2 separate regions of the Homo sapiens genome follow, and region 2 is linked to region 1. Evidence: promoter capture Hi-C in 16 types of primary human blood cells and fetal thymus (Javierre and others, 2016). All regions are on one chromosome and are shown on one strand. Each heading gives the region's core, a stretch centred on a gene start or on the middle of the fragment in contact. The rest is flanking DNA. Distances are from core to core; before and after follow the strand shown.

Evidence for each region. The method cuts DNA at HindIII sites, captures the fragments that hold promoters and counts their contacts. A CHiCAGO score of 5 or more calls a contact.
Region 2: the fragment with the promoter of TNFAIP8L2 here is called in contact with the fragment with the promoter of ADAMTSL4 in region 1 in 1 of 17 cell types (erythroblasts); the score reaches 5.2 in erythroblasts.

Annotation. Positions count from the first base shown.
Region 1 is chr1:150,548,123-150,550,697 of GRCh38, reverse strand. ADAMTSL4 (ADAMTS like 4) reads right to left here and starts at 1,290. Exons shown (of 19, transcript NM_019032.6): 1 at 1,199-1,290; 2 at 803-876. LOC124904417 reads right to left here and starts at 408. Exons shown (of 1, transcript XM_047438226.1): 1 at 1-408. The coding sequence starts at 408. ADAMTSL4-AS2 (ADAMTSL4 antisense RNA 2) reads left to right here. Exons shown (of 6, transcript NR_187269.1): 6 at 1,948-2,134. RefSeq lists an enhancer at 1-84 and silencers at 1,420-1,559, 1,730-1,879, 1,811-2,105. The HindIII fragment of the contact is 42,411 bases long and covers 1-2,575 here.
Region 2 is chr1:151,155,356-151,157,930 of GRCh38, reverse strand. TNFAIP8L2 (TNF alpha induced protein 8 like 2) reads right to left here and starts at 1,282. Exons shown (of 2, transcript NM_024575.5): 1 at 1,209-1,282. TNFAIP8L2-SCNM1 (TNFAIP8L2-SCNM1 readthrough) reads right to left here and starts at 1,282. Exons shown (of 7, transcript NR_144937.2): 1 at 1,209-1,282. It also overlaps a transcript of LYSMD1 not described here. The HindIII fragment of the contact is 1,285 bases long and covers 1,272-2,556 here.

The DNA.
Region 1 (2,575 bases), core at 41-2,540:
TGAACGGGGGAGGCCAGGATCTCCAGAGAAGGGCCCATGTTCCACCCAAGTCTTCAGGCTCTGCCTGACTCTTGTTACTCCAGCTGAGGGAAGAAGAAATGGGGTGATAGTCACTGCCTGCCCCTTCTCTGATGCCGACCCCTCTTCATGCCCTCTCTGCCTCTGCTTCTCTCTGCCACCGAGATCTCTTCTCGCAGCCCCTCTCCACGGGTCTACCCAGTACACATAATCCCATCCCGAGCTGGGTTTGGCTTTGGCAGTTCCCTGGAGAAGTGAGGGGTGGGGGTGACGTGAGCTCCCGGGGCCCGGGCCAGGCCTGGCTCCCTCTCTGGAAAAGTCCCACCCCACCCTCCCCTGCGCAGCCCGGCAGGGGCCCATGCCCCCTCCTCTGCAGAAACACACGCACATTTATGCTTCTCACCCCTTTCCATGTCCCTCATTTGGTGTCGTTCCCGGCCCAGGACGAGGAAAGGAGAGGTCAGAGGTGGTCACTCTGGTGCCAGAGTAGACCCTGGTCTGGACAAACGCGGGCTCCTCCTGGCCACACCTCTCCACACTGCCCAGTGAAGACCAAGGAACAGAGACCTGCGCAGGGCTCACCCCTTCACCCCCAGGTCTCCCTGCTGGAGAGTGGTTGGACCCTGTGTTTCTGGGCCTAGCCATGGAGAATCCCTGTCCTGAGTCCGAATTCCCGGGCCCTCAGAGCCCTCCACTCCTGGGTCTGGCAGGCCACCCCAACAGGTGTCTTTCTTTTTTGTCAACCTCTTCTGCCATCGGGCTGAGCTGGATCAAGGGCACCCACCTGCGTCCCTCGCGGCGACCCTGTCCTCCAAGTTCAGGAGTGCAGTGGGGGACACACCGTCCGAGAGCACCCTCCTAGAGAGAGGGCAGGAGGCACCGGCCGCGCGGGGAGGTCATGGGTCTGTTTTCCAACTTTACTATGTGACTTAGGAGGAATTTTGGTTCACTCCCCGCCCGGGTGATGGGGCCAGAGTTCCACGGGATCAGACTCCCTCCCCAGGAATTCGACCCCAGGGGCTGGAAGATTGTCCGAGGCCACCGGAGCTGGGTCCGGGGTCGTGGCGGGGTCGCGACCGCACAGCGCAGGGAGAGGGGACGACGCGGGCGCGCGGGGCGGGCGGTCTAACGGGACCCGGGAGAGGGGCGGCCGGGGCCGGGGTCCCGGGGAGGTCTCTACCTGCTCTGCGAGCCCCCGGTGGCCCGTTAACCCTTCTGCGCCCAGGCGCTCTCTCCAGGCAACCTCGCTCCGCGGCGGCCACTGGGGCCCCTGAGCCGCGCTCCGGTCACGGCCGCCTCGGCCGCAACTCCGCCCTCGCGCCCGCCCCCGCCCAGCCCCGCCCGCCACGCGCCCCAGCCCGCGCCCCTCGGCGGCCCCGGGGTGGGGCCGGTCTGCCTCGCAGCCCCACTCGCCAGGACCACCCACCCCGGGCTGCGCGCCGGGCGCCCCCCGACGGCTGCGTGAGCTGAAGCCCGGGCTGGCCCAGCCGGGGTCGGAGGCTGCAGTCGCTCCCGGGCGCTGTCCTCGTGCCCGGCCGAGACTAGGGACTTAAGCAGCCCGGGCTGGCCCAGCCGGGGTCAGAGGCTGCAGTCGCTCCCGGGCGCTGTCCTCGTGCCCGGCTGAGACTAGGGACTTAAGCAACCCGGGCCTCCGAGCCGCTCGGGTGAGCGGTGCGAACACGGCGCGGCGCGGCGCGGCACAGGCGGGGCAGCCTCCAGGGGCGCCTGGAGCGAGGCGGCCTGGGAGAGCCGCTGGTCCGGGAGGGAAGCGCCCTGGACGGAGGTACCCGCGGCCCCCGATCCGCGTGGGTCCAGGCTCTCCCCTCCACGCAGCCTCCCCTGCAAACTCAGTCACTCCTGCCTCTCCCGTGTTGGGCAGTGGTGGTTCAGATTGCTGGGACTTCTATGAGCTTCGGTTTTTTTCCTCAGTAAGGTTTTACACTCGGGACTCAGCGAAAGGACAGCGTGCTGACTTCTGAGTCAGACTGATCTGGATTTGAACCTCAGCTCCAGCTCTTGCCAGCTATGTGGTCTTCGACGAATACTTCCACCCCTGTGTGGTGCAGTTTGCTCATCTGCAAAATGGGACTAATCTAATATATATGATGGGCTTGGATATGTCTCTTTATGCATTTATACATGGAAGAATGCACCCCAAACTCAGTAGTATTGGTGACATCTGGGGAGGGATGCAGGGTTGGGGGAGGACTGAAAAAGGCTTTTGCTTTTTACTCTGCGTTATGTTTATTATTATTATATTATTATTTATTTATTTTTTTTGAGACGGAGTCTCACTCTGTCGTCCAGGCTGGAGTGCAGTGGTGCTATCTTGGCTCACTGCAAGCTCCGCCTCCCAGGTTCACGCCATTCTCCTGCCCTAGCCTCCTGAGTAGCTGGGACTACAGGCGTCTGCCACCACGCCCGGCTAATTTTTTGTATTTTTAGTAGAGACGGGGTTTCATCGTGTTAGCCAGAATGGTCTCGATCTCCTGACCTCGTGATCCGTCCGCCTCGGCCTCCCAAAGTGCTGGGATTACAGGCGTGAGCCACCGCACCC
Region 2 (2,575 bases), core at 33-2,532, 610 kb before region 1:
GTAATTTACCCAAGATCAAACGCAACTCATTTTTTGGCCCCCAAAGCCAGTGGCAGCTAGTGCACTATACTTCCTTTAAAGTAAGAAGCATAAGCATCCCAGGAATCCTAATAGGAGTAATAACTAACATTTACTGAGAACCTACTATATGCAAGTGCTTTACGTCAGTCATCTTAGCCTTCCCAATCCTGTGTAAGGTTAGGGTAGGTATCCCCATTTTGCAATGAGAAAACTGAAGCGAAGAGAAATATAGCAATTTGGCCAAAGTCACTAGTAAATTATAAAGATGGGCTTCAAACCAAATAATCCAGAGAAACCTCCTTCCCCGGAATGCTCCCAGTGTGGTTAAAGCACACTGAGGAAGCACGAGAAGCCAACACCTCAAGAAGGGCAGGCAGTCCTGAAGGTCTGAGCCTTCTGCTACACTGAACTCAGGACCCTCTTGGTGGCATATCAGCTCCATGTGTCCAGGGTTCTCTCCCCATGGTCTTCGCCTGTGGTTCTTCTGGTTGTTTTGCTTCTTACTTCCCCCTCCTCTGCTCTGCAGGATGTGGCTGTGACCGCAGTGAGGAGCAGCCTCGCCCTCTCCCCCAAACCAAAATGGGAGTCTGAAGAGGCAGAGGAGGTGGAGACTGTGGGGGTTTTTTTCCCCAGCTGAATCCTTCCAGTGGAAACCTGAACCTTGCTTTGCTCCCAGCTTGCCTTGGGGCTTTCTGGACCATGCTCCCCAGCCGGAAGAGGAGATTGCTCCATGTGAGCCTTCCTTCCTCCTTGGCCTTCCTGTTACCCAGCTCTCCATTGCCCCCATTGCCGTCTCACATTTATTCCGCTGTCTTCTCCCTCTCTCCCTGTTTCAGTCTCCCTTTTTCTCTTGTCTGGGTCCTCCCTATGATCCTCTGGCCTGGCCATACTCTCCCTCTGGCCCTTACCCATCTATCTCCTTGTTTCCTAAGATTTCCTTGCATTTCGCACACATCCATATGGATGTGGATCCACCTGCATCCCTCAGCCCTGCCCCCACCGCATCCAAAACCAGGTCTTTCAGAGGCTGCCTTGCCACCAGAAAAACTAAGCTAAGCTCTACAAAGGACCCAAGAATTGTACAAGCGAGAGTTTCACAATATGAAAAGCTAAGACTGAAAGAGCTAGAGATTCCTCTGCCACCATTACCCCTAAAGTCTACCATTCTGTCACTGCCGGTCCCTCACCTGCTGTGCTGGGTGCCAGTCTTGCCTTGGATGTTCCCGGAAAGCTTACAGAATGGAGAAGCTTCACTTAGTGTGAGAGCCCTTTGGCTTGGCCCCACCCCTTGAGCCCCGCCTACCTACTCTCTGCTTAACCTCCGGTTCATCACTTCTGTCACCAAGAAGGCCTATGGCCCAAGAGCAACCTAGAAATAAGACAAAGGTCAAAAAGAGTGGAATTCTGTTGGAAATAGTCTCAATTCTTTGAAGGGGGGAAAGGGATTTGCATCCTCCACTCTCAAATTGCTTCTTTCTTTTCTTGCTGCCCAGTTCCTGAAGATCCTGTCCTTACATTTCTACAGTACTGGGAAGGATGTAAAGCCCAAATTTCTGGGGTAGGAGGTCAGTGGGAAAAGTTCTGAAGATTGAAAGGTGGTGCTGTGGGGCAAGTATTTAATATATTATTCCAGTGATTGCCAGGTAAGAGCACAGACTGTCACAACCCTTAATACTGAAGGGAGGAAGGTGCTGGGACCAGGGCTGCTGCACCACAGGTGACCAGCAGGTGCCAGCACAGCACTGAATCACTAGCGTAGAGGAACAAGCCTACTGAGTTGCCTTTTTTTTTTTTTTTTTTTTTTTTTTTGAGACAGAGTTTTGCTCTTGTTGCCCAGGCTGGAGTGCAATGGGGTGATCTCGGCTCACTGCAACCTCTGCCTCCCGGGTTCAAGTGATTCTCCTGCCTCAACCTCCCAAGTAGCTGAAATTACAGGCCTGTGCCACCATGCCTGGCTTATTTTGTATTTTTAGTAGAGACGGTTTCACCATGTTGGCCAGGATCGTCTTGAACTCCTGACCTCAGGTGATCCACCTTGGCCTTCCAGAGTGCTGGGATTACAGGTGTGAGCCAACGCACCCCGCAGGGCCTACTGAGTAGGCTACTGTAGTAGCTACTTTGTAGCTGCTAAAGGGATACAAAATGAGGGGAAGCCACAATTGGGTTTTGTTTGTTTGTTTGTTGTTTTGTTTTTGAGATAGGGTCTCACTCTGTCGCCCAGGCCACAGTGCAGTGGCATCATCACAGCTGACTGCAGCCTTGACCTCCTGGGCTCAAGAGCTCTTCCTACTTCAGCCTCCCAAGTAGCTGGGACCAGAGGCTCACAAGCCTTCCTTTTTTTTGTAGAGAGGAGGGTCTAACTATGTTGCCCAGGCTGAACTTCTAAGCTCAAGCAATCCTCCTACCTTAGTCTCCCAAAGTGTTGGGATTACAGGCGTGAGCCACTGCACCCATCCTGGAAGTCACAGTTGTTGAATGAGACAAAAACACTTGCTATCAAGAATCTTATGGGGAATCTGGCGAGGGAAATAAGCTTAAACATAAAGAACAGTAA